Regions from separate parts of the Homo sapiens genome. Here all the other regions are linked to region 1. Evidence: promoter capture Hi-C in 16 types of primary human blood cells and fetal thymus (Javierre and others, 2016). All regions are on one chromosome and are shown on one strand. The core of a region is centred on a gene start or on the middle of the fragment in contact, and the rest is flanking DNA. Distances in the headings are between cores, read along the strand shown.

The links. The method cuts DNA at HindIII sites, captures the fragments that hold promoters and counts their contacts. A CHiCAGO score of 5 or more calls a contact.
Region 2: a fragment that was not itself captured here is called in contact with the fragment with the promoter of YARS2 in region 1 in 1 of 17 cell types (monocytes); the score reaches 7.5 in monocytes.
Region 3: a fragment that was not itself captured here is called in contact with the fragment with the promoter of YARS2 in region 1 in 1 of 17 cell types (M0 macrophages); the score reaches 5.4 in M0 macrophages.

Annotation. Positions count from the first base shown.
Region 1 is chr12:32,754,432-32,757,466 of GRCh38, forward strand. YARS2 (tyrosyl-tRNA synthetase 2) reads right to left here and starts at 1,466. Exons shown (of 5, transcript NM_001040436.3): 1 at 665-1,466. The coding sequence starts at 1,443. RefSeq lists enhancers at 406-1,045, 602-761, 1,046-1,685, 1,132-1,231, 1,252-1,481 and 1 more. The HindIII fragment of the contact is 6,832 bases long and covers 1-3,035 here.
Region 2 is chr12:33,604,782-33,607,816 of GRCh38, forward strand. No RefSeq gene overlaps it. Among named protein-coding and RNA genes, the nearest start is that of SYT10, 170 kb to the left of the region's middle. The HindIII fragment of the contact is 246 bases long and covers 1,295-1,540 here.
Region 3 is chr12:33,535,030-33,538,064 of GRCh38, forward strand. No RefSeq gene overlaps it. Among named protein-coding and RNA genes, the nearest start is that of SYT10, 97 kb to the left of the region's middle. The HindIII fragment of the contact is 1,471 bases long and covers 878-2,348 here.

The DNA of each region.
Region 1 (3,035 bases), core at 216-2,715:
TGTTGCACATGAGCTAGCCCTATCCTTCACCTCTCTCAAGAAAATGCTATTAGACCCGCATTACTTGTCAATTATTTGGAGTTGAAAAAACTTTTTGAGATACCAACCAAGGACTAACACTAGTTTCATGGAGGGTGCAGAGCTAAAGCAGAGGCTAGCTACTCAAGGAGGCCCAGTCACGTTCTGGTATAAACACACAAAAGCAGTTTCTCTAATTAGAGAGGACGACTTAGGCGAAGCAAAACAGACCGACCAAATCTTCACTAGTGGTCTGTTTCCCTTTTTTTTTTTTTTTTTTTTGAGACGGAGTCTCCCTCTGTTGCCCCAGGCTGGAGTGCAGTGGCGCGATCTCGGCTCACTGAAACCTTCGCCTCCCGGGTTCAAGAGATTCTCCTGCCTCAGCCTCCCGAATAGCTGGGATTACAGGCGTGCATCACCACGCCCAGCTAATTTTTAGAATACACCGTTTACTCTTAATACCCTTAATTCAGCCCTTTAATTCTTATTAGCCAGTGTTATTAACGCCATTATAGAGCCTTAATGGGGATAAAACCAACAAGAGCTGGAACGAAGGGCAGCAACTACAATCCTAAGAGTGAATCACAGGCTACTAGTGTGTAAATTATTTGGTCCCAGGATTTCCCCAAGGTTTAAAGGCACTTACTTGTTGATGAACTCATATCCGGACATGATGTTGCCTAGTTGATCAGATCCGCCCAGCTGGACCCTGCATCCATAACGCTGGAAGAGGTAATAGAAGTCATAGGCCTGGAGCACCTGGTAAAAGAACTCGGCCAAGCTCATGCCCTCGGGGCTCTTGAGCCGCAGCTGCACGCTCTGCCGGCTCAGCAGCGTCCCCATGCGGAAGTGACCCCCCACTGCCGCCAGGAAGTCCACCAGGTGCTGCTTCTGGTACCAGGCCGAGTTGTCCAGCACAGTGAAGCTGCCCCAGGAGCGCCCATCAGTGAAAAGCTGCTGGTGATTAGCCGCCAGGGCCTCAAGCCCTAGGCGCAGAGCTCGCGCGTTGGCTCGCACGCGCTCTGTCTCCAGCGCCTCGCGTTCCTTGGTACGGCCGCTCGGGTCTCCCAGGCGCGCCGTGGCGCCTCCCACCAGCGCGATCACGTTGTGGCCCGCTCGCTGCAAATGAAACAGGCCCAGCAGCGCAAGTAGATGACCCACATGAAGCGAGTCTGCCGTGGGGTCGAAGCCACAGTAAATGGTTTGGGGAAAACTCGCCGTGCCACGGTCGAAGAGCTCTGGGAGCTCTATTTTCGTCCCCGTCTCCGGGAAGAAGTCCTTGAACAGACCTCGAGCCTTCTGCGCTGCCAGTAACCCCTGAGCGCCCGAGTGGGCCTTACGCAGCCCCAAGGGCAACAATACTGAGAGATTTAGGGTACCAGACCACCGGCCCCAGGAAAAGGACCGCAAGATGGGCGCCGCCATCTTGGTAGCGGCACGAAGGGAATGCTGGGATTGCAGAGGCTCCCACCACACCCACCTACTTACAGCTCCTAGGGAAGGTGCTTCAGTGTTTTTCTGCGCATGCCCGAGACGGTTACGTAGTTACGGAGCTTGCGCTCTCAGCAGTTGAGTCCCGACTCCAAGTGGCGATTCCGCCTCAGAGCCGTCGCCTTACGTTCCCTTAAACTTAATTTTTCCATCAGCAGTGTGGATCTGCTTATGATAGTTCCTACCTCATAAGGCTGTTGTGAGCCTTAAAAATTAAAGCATTTGGCACATAACGCTTCACAAATGCTAACTTGTATTTACATTTTCACGTAAAAAGATTGTGATGCGCAAGTTCTTTGAAGTCTTGGTTCCATGCAAAAAGCTGTTCACAGAGGTTGAGAAAGGTTAGGAATTGGTTTAAGTTCGCGGAGAGATAGGGAGTTGCTGCTGAGACGCAAGCAATTTCATAGTACCGATTCCCTAATTGCACCTCGTCCCCAGTATTCATCGGCTCTTCCAGGAGGTGGCAGTCTTGTCCAAGGTATAGCAAGAAAAACTCAGTGCAATAAAGTACATGCATCAAGTCCTGTGGTTTATTTATTTTAAATACAGTTAACTAGGTTGGGACACAGCTTAGCATGAGTGGATTCAAGTTAGTAATCACATCGTGCAGCGTGACAGGTGCTCTGAATACTGACCAGGGATGAGGTTCTTATTGGCAGCTGGCTGGCAGGTGATCTAGCTTCAAAATCCCATGTTAGAGCCTGATTTCTAGGACCGCTTTCAAAATCGTCTTAGGTAGAATTCCCTGGACTCTGAGTTGGGGGGGAGACTGGTTTGCAGGAGGGTAATTGGAGTGTGCTCTTAAGAACAACACCTATAATGGAGTGAGGGAGGCCGGGTTGGGCGGAGGGAGAAAGAAGTTGAACTGTGAACAATTTGTAATAGAGGCCTCAGGCAATCCAGTAAGGGCTCTGGAGCCGGGATTTCCTTTCAGAGTCATCCTGAATTGAGGCCAGGGGGCAGACCTTTAGACCCTCTTACTGACTGCTCATTAAATGTGGGATGTTTCTGGGGAGGAAGCAAAACGCTGGGTTAAGGCTTTTGGAGAGTGAGATGTGCAGGAAGGGACTCAGCTGTGAGCAATAAGCAACCAACACTCCCAGCAGCTGGGGGATTGAGTGCCTTGGTCCTGTGACTGGGATCTGGGCCATGTTCCAAATCATTCCCTACAGGACTTTTCCATTTTTTAACGTTATAAAGTTATCTAACAAAATGAAAACTTATTTTAATAATTAGTTTCTTTGCATGTATAATTATCAGTGAATTAGTTTCTCATTGCCAAATAGTAACTTCAATAGGATTTTGAGATACTCATTCAATAGGCTATTAAACATACTCCCAACTGCTTAAGAAAATAGTGTGTTCAAAATATCTTAAAATTTGCAATCATAACCTGTTGATCTTCAGTGTTTTTTTTTTTTTTAAGTGTCACTCTGTTGTCCACACTGGAGTGCCGTGGCAGGATCATGGTTCACTGCAGCCTTGAACTCCTAGGCTCCAGCGATCTTCCTGCCTCAGCCTCC
Region 2 (3,035 bases), core at 168-2,667, 850 kb after region 1:
TATAAAGCATAACTTTATAATGATAAAGGGATATATTCACCAAGAAAACATATTAATATTAAAAGTTTGTATGCCTAAAACCAGAGCATCATAGTACATGAAACAAAAATGGATAGAACTGTAAGGAAAATAGACAAATCCTAAAAATCCAACAGAATAAGCAGACAAAAATGTCAGTAAGGACACTGAAGACATGAACAGCATAGCAACCAAATTGTCTAGTTGACATTTAAAAACCCTTCACTTGACACAGCAGAATGTACATTCCTTTCAAGGGCATGAACATTTACCAGTATAGACCATGTCTGAACCATAAAACAAGCCTCAAAAATTTGAGTGGATTCACGCCATGCAGTGTCTGTTCTCTTATCACCATGAAATTAAAGTTAAAATTAACAGGAGAAAGATACATGAAAAAAATCCCCAAATATTTGAAAACTGAATAGTATACTTTTAAATAACCCATGGGCCAAATAATAAGTCAAAAGGTAAATTTAAAATTTAAAGGTACTTTAACTTTAAATTATGTTATGTTCAATAATTTTGTATAAAGTTATTCTTTACATGAGAAAAACAATAAAATACAAATACAAAGAAAAAATTGTGGGGTGCAGCTAAGAAGTACTTAGAAGATGAATAAATAAGCTGTAAACTATTCATAATTTGAAATATGACTCAGAAATAAGTAGGAATGGACTTTTGAAATGTATAACATACGGAAATATTAAAATAATTATGCTGAATAAAACAAGCCAGACAAAAATAAGTATATGTTCTATTATTCCATTCATATACATTTCTAAAAATCCAAATTATCTATAGTAACGTAAAGCAGATCATCATTGGTTTTCATGTGACAAGGGGTAAGGGGCAGGAATGGGTAGAAAGCAGAATTACATAGCAGAATGGGACACACTTGGGGAGGTAGTGTAAAAACACCTTTATTATTATTACCTTGATTAAGTTGATGGTTTCTTATATGCACATGTATGTCAAAATGTCAGTTTGTATATTTTGAATATTTGCAATTTATTGTATATCAAATATATATCTAACACACCTGTTAAAAATAAATAATGGCAATAACTGGTGACGGTAATGAAATAAAATAGCATGACCTATTTCTACATAAATCCTGAGAGAGGAGACACTGCACAAGACTTCCGGTTGTAAAAATCTCACCCTAGTAAACCTCCCTCTCCTGGTGGAGTGAAGAAATGTTCCTGAGGAAACAAGTTAGCAATTCAAATATAGGTTGGTTTGCCACTGATGCATTATACATTCTGTTCCTCAAAGCTTACAGAAAATCTTCCAGCTATCATGTAGTTTCTATTTTAACTGAGCTTAGCATTTTCCCATTTGTAATGCTGTACTTTAATATCTGAAGATGTGATTATCTTGTTAATTAAAACAATGAATACTGAAATAACTTTGATAGGATGAGTCTTTAAAATGCGTTTATACAAAACTCAGTAAGCTAAGTAAGTAGATATAGATATTTTGTCTCTAATTAGGTGGTGGCAGGTATCAACCATTGTGAAGCTTGTAAATGATTCCTGGATTTTAAGGGCCACTAGAGTAGTTTACTGACATCAGCTGCCAAGCTTATTTTGGTCAGTGCTCTATACCCAGAGCTTAGCACAGCATCTGTCACTAAGTGAAGGCTCAGCAAATGCTTTTTGAATAGCTGAATGCATCACAAGTGGGACTGCAGAGTTTGGAGTGGAAATATCGTTTGCATTGATAGGAAAAACAGCAGCAGCAGCAGCAGCAACAACAAAACACCTTCTATACCCATGGCACAAAAATTTACAAAAGATTAAGTAATTTAATTTGTTTTTCCAAGGATGGAAAGATGTCTCAGGGTCACATGTTGATGCTAGACCTCATACTTTATATGGTTAATAGGGTGGTCTGTCACTGATATTTTCTGGAGGAGTTTCTCTGAGTGAAATAGTTGATCCAAAGGTGGTAGCATCAGTGAGTTGTTAAGAATAGTCTCGATGATTTCCCCTCACATTCAAGTTGAACTCCAGTGACTTTATTATGTCCTACCTACAAGGCTGTATAAGTCGTGGCTGTGGATATCTACCAACCTCAATTCTCACCATCGGTTTCACTTTCCCTGCTGTTATTTATCACACCTGCCTTCTTATCACTCACAGAATGTGCTAAGTGCATTCCAGTCACGGGACTTCTGCAATTCTGGTTTTTTTTTTTTTTTTTTTTTTTTTTTTTTTTTTTTTGAGACGGAGTCTCGCTCTGCGCTCAGGCTGGAGTGCAGTGGCGCGATCCTGGCTCACTGCAAGCTCCGCCTTCGGGGTTCAGCCATTCTCCTGCCTCAGTAGTAGCTGGGACTACAGGTGCCCGCCACCGCGCCTGGCTAATTTTTTGTATTTTTAGTAGAGACAGAGTTTCACTGTGTTAGCCAGGATGGTCTCGATCTCCTGACCTCCTGATCCACCCGCCTTGGCCTCCTAAAGTGCTGGGATTACAGACGTGAGCCACCTCGCCCAGCCTGCAATTCTTAATTGCCTTAATTGGAATATTCTTTTTGGTATTTTATGGGATTCTTTGCTTTTATCCCAAATTGAATTTAAGATTTAAAATACATACATATATATATATACACACACACACGCACACGCCTAGATTGTTCAATTTAGCTTTCACTTTCTGTAACTTTAAAACTAAAATGGGAAAGCCACCATACCTTGGAATCTGTGACAACTTGAAATATACCTGGACTTTTTTTTTTTCAGCTATTTATGTTGACATAAATGCCAACCAACAGCCATTATCTGTTCTACCTGAGACATAAAAGATATTAAGACCAGGATAAAAGTTTTTTATGTGATAGTATGGTGTGGGCATAGTTGAGTTTCATTTTGTGGGTTCATTTTATGAACTAATTAGCATGTAACTTAAAATGTCACCCATGTACTTTAACATTCTCTTAATTTTGATTTCACCATTGCACATAAATAGTATCTTCTTGATTCCGTTGTTTCATCTTTTGGTTTTGATAAAAATCT
Region 3 (3,035 bases), core at 363-2,862, 780 kb after region 1:
AAATACCTTAAGACAACACTGATTGATTGAAAGTTCTTCCAACTAAGTGCATGAGAAGAGCAAGAAAAAGAGTAAGTGGGTCAGATTGTAACCCACTGGAGTTGTGAATATTTATATTTGATTTATTTGCTATGATTTAGAGAGTAGAGATTATTTACACAAAATTTAAATAAATTAATTCTTTATTGTTTCATTTCAAACCTTAACATATACTGAGTGTCAGCAAATATTTAAATGCTGTCTTGATAACTAATTATTTGGCTCTTTAATGTGTACTTCTGTTGTGATTATAGTTAAGAAATAGAAATTATAAAGAGCAAGTACTTCATGCTCATTTTTAAATAAATGTACCGAATTAATATATGATGCTGTGACTCTAGGCACACTTTGTTTTTTCACCTTAAACAAAGGTATGATTTATGTAAATTTAAAACAATGGTAAGAGTTTCTAATGTACATAGGCAGACATCCTTAAACATGGAGATTTCCTTAATAGATGTAATTATTTTTTACAAAAGGGTTTTAAGATAGCCAATTAAATTCCAGAAAGGTGTATTTTAGTTTGATAGGTGTTCTTTTTAACTTAGCTACTGTTTCTTAGCTAAAATTACTGAGTTAAGGGTGGAACCCATCAAGGAATAGGGCAAAGAAGGCATTCCCTAGGCCTGGACTCAGCATGGATAGATCTGAAAAAGAAGCAAGCCTATTTTACCTGAGGGCCTACCTTTTATAAGCACTTTCTCTAGGATAGTTTTCTTTTCACCTTCGGGGCAGGATAGTAACTAAGCCAAAAGGTTAGCAGATTTAATTTTTCTTATCAGTTAGTCACTTAAGCTTTTTATTTGTTTTTAAATAAAAATATTGAAATCGTTTTAAAAGCTTCTGCCTCTCAATAGGCATCCCTAGATAAGACACTAGTTTGAGAGCCCTCATTTTCAAATGTGCTTCTTCAGTACAGTTTGTTCATTTGGAATCTTCCACTGTAAGTAATCTTTAGTAAGATTTTACGATTTCTCTAAGACTTTGCTGCTTCCAGGGCCTAATACTTATTTATGCATGTGTAAGCTGGAAGGTACTCAGTTCTCCAGAAACTAAGGATTCCATTTTTACCTCACATATTTACCTTGGTTTTCAGATCTCCTTGATTAACTTAGCCAATGATTTTTTTCCTACCCAAGCATGCAAGAAAAAGAAAGGTGGTAGAACACAAAAATTCCTGCAAACTTTTAAAAGCCAAAGTTTATACCCTCTGCGATACTGCCATTTACTACCAGTTTCTTTCTGATCCAGTCAGACATAAGAGGCCTCTTTTATGGATCTAAGCCAGTTAATATAGAATCCAATCCTGGACTCAGTCCAGTTTCTGTCACAACTTCCAAACCCAGTTTGGATCAGAATTTGTTCAAAGAAACTTGGAGAGCTCAAAACAAAACTCTATGGGGCTTCAGAGTCTGAGAGAGAACTTACCATGATCCCAGTGCTGTGAGAGAGCAATGGAGACAAATGGGTGCAGTGGGTACCTTTCTTGGTCACTCAGCACTCCTGGGGGTCATTAGAAGCTGTACTTCAGATCCCACTTCTGACACATCTGTGAAAAGAAAATTCTTAGCTGAATAAAATTTAACAGAGTTTAATTGAGCAAAGAATGATTCACGAATTTGGCAGCCTCTTGAGCCAGAGGAGGCTCAGAGAGACCCTCTAGGCACACTTTTCTAATGGCACTTTTGCTCTTTTTGCACTTGGGTATTCTAGGTAAGTACTATTTTCTCTCCCCTCTGTGTTCTTCTATTCCTACCCCAAAGCAATCATTGCTTACCTTGTGTCTGTCATCAATTTATTCTTTCCTCTGACTACCCGTCTTTAATCCACAACTGTCCCCTGGACGATTTCCCCAGAGACCAGCTCTGTCATTACCCAGGGCTGTGTTTGGCAGTTAGATTTTGGACGTGTAGAATCCTGAAGGTGTTGATGATATTGCTGATACATGTATAATTTAGGGAAACCATAGATTCTCTCCCTCAATAATAATACCATAACACCACACAGCTTTATTAGGTGCACAGACTTAACTTTGATTCTATTTGAAGCTCTCCTTAAAACAGATCTTTTGCCTTTTTTTTTTTAACCTATTCCTTAGTTTGTTGAAATCAAAAATTTCATGGTGCCACCTCTCTCATCTTCCCTGCCTTCATTCAAAAACACATTGTTAAGGGTTCATGGGCAGCATGGCAAATCAGATTTTAATTACTTAACTGCTTCATGTGATAGTCTTATCAGTAACATGTTCATGTTCTAATAGAGCTTTGATCAATTTAATAAGCAGTCACACTTCATAAGGATTAAATGTAAGCTTTCCTCCCCAAAAAATTGTTACCAACAGTGCCTTGTCAAATCCCTTTCCATCTGGAGAAGGTGCTCCCTTAGAAGCATGGCAATCTGATTTCTAGCCTTTTGCTAGAAATAAATACCATGTTTCTAGCCATTTGCTAGAAATAAATACCATATTTCTAGCCATTTGCTAGAAATAAATACCATAAATAAATACCATAAGACTCCCCCAACTTTGCATCCCTCCTTGACACTTTATTTTTTAATTTTTAATTTATTGTTATATTTTTTTTTTGGTGGTGGGTGTTTGTCTTTTTACTTTAAGTTCTGGGTTACATGTGCAGAATGTGCAGTTTTGTTACACGTGCCCAGGTGGTTTGCTGCAACCATCAACCCGTCACCTACATTAGGTATTTCTCCTAATGTTATCACTCCCCTAACCCCCCCACCCACCGACAGGCCCAGTGTGTGATGTTCCCCTCCCTGTGTCCATGTGTTCTTGCCTGCTAAGATGACTCTCTTCCTCTGTCCTTGATCATATTCCCTGCATCCTGACTATTCTCCACCTCCTCCTCAAGGATTTTGCTTTACCTATTCTCCCTTAAAATATTATGGGATTTATTTTAAAATCATCTCACTTGAATTTTGGGTCTAATTCTGTACATTTAAAACTTCGCTTTCCAGTTTATTTAAATTTTTATTTTCCC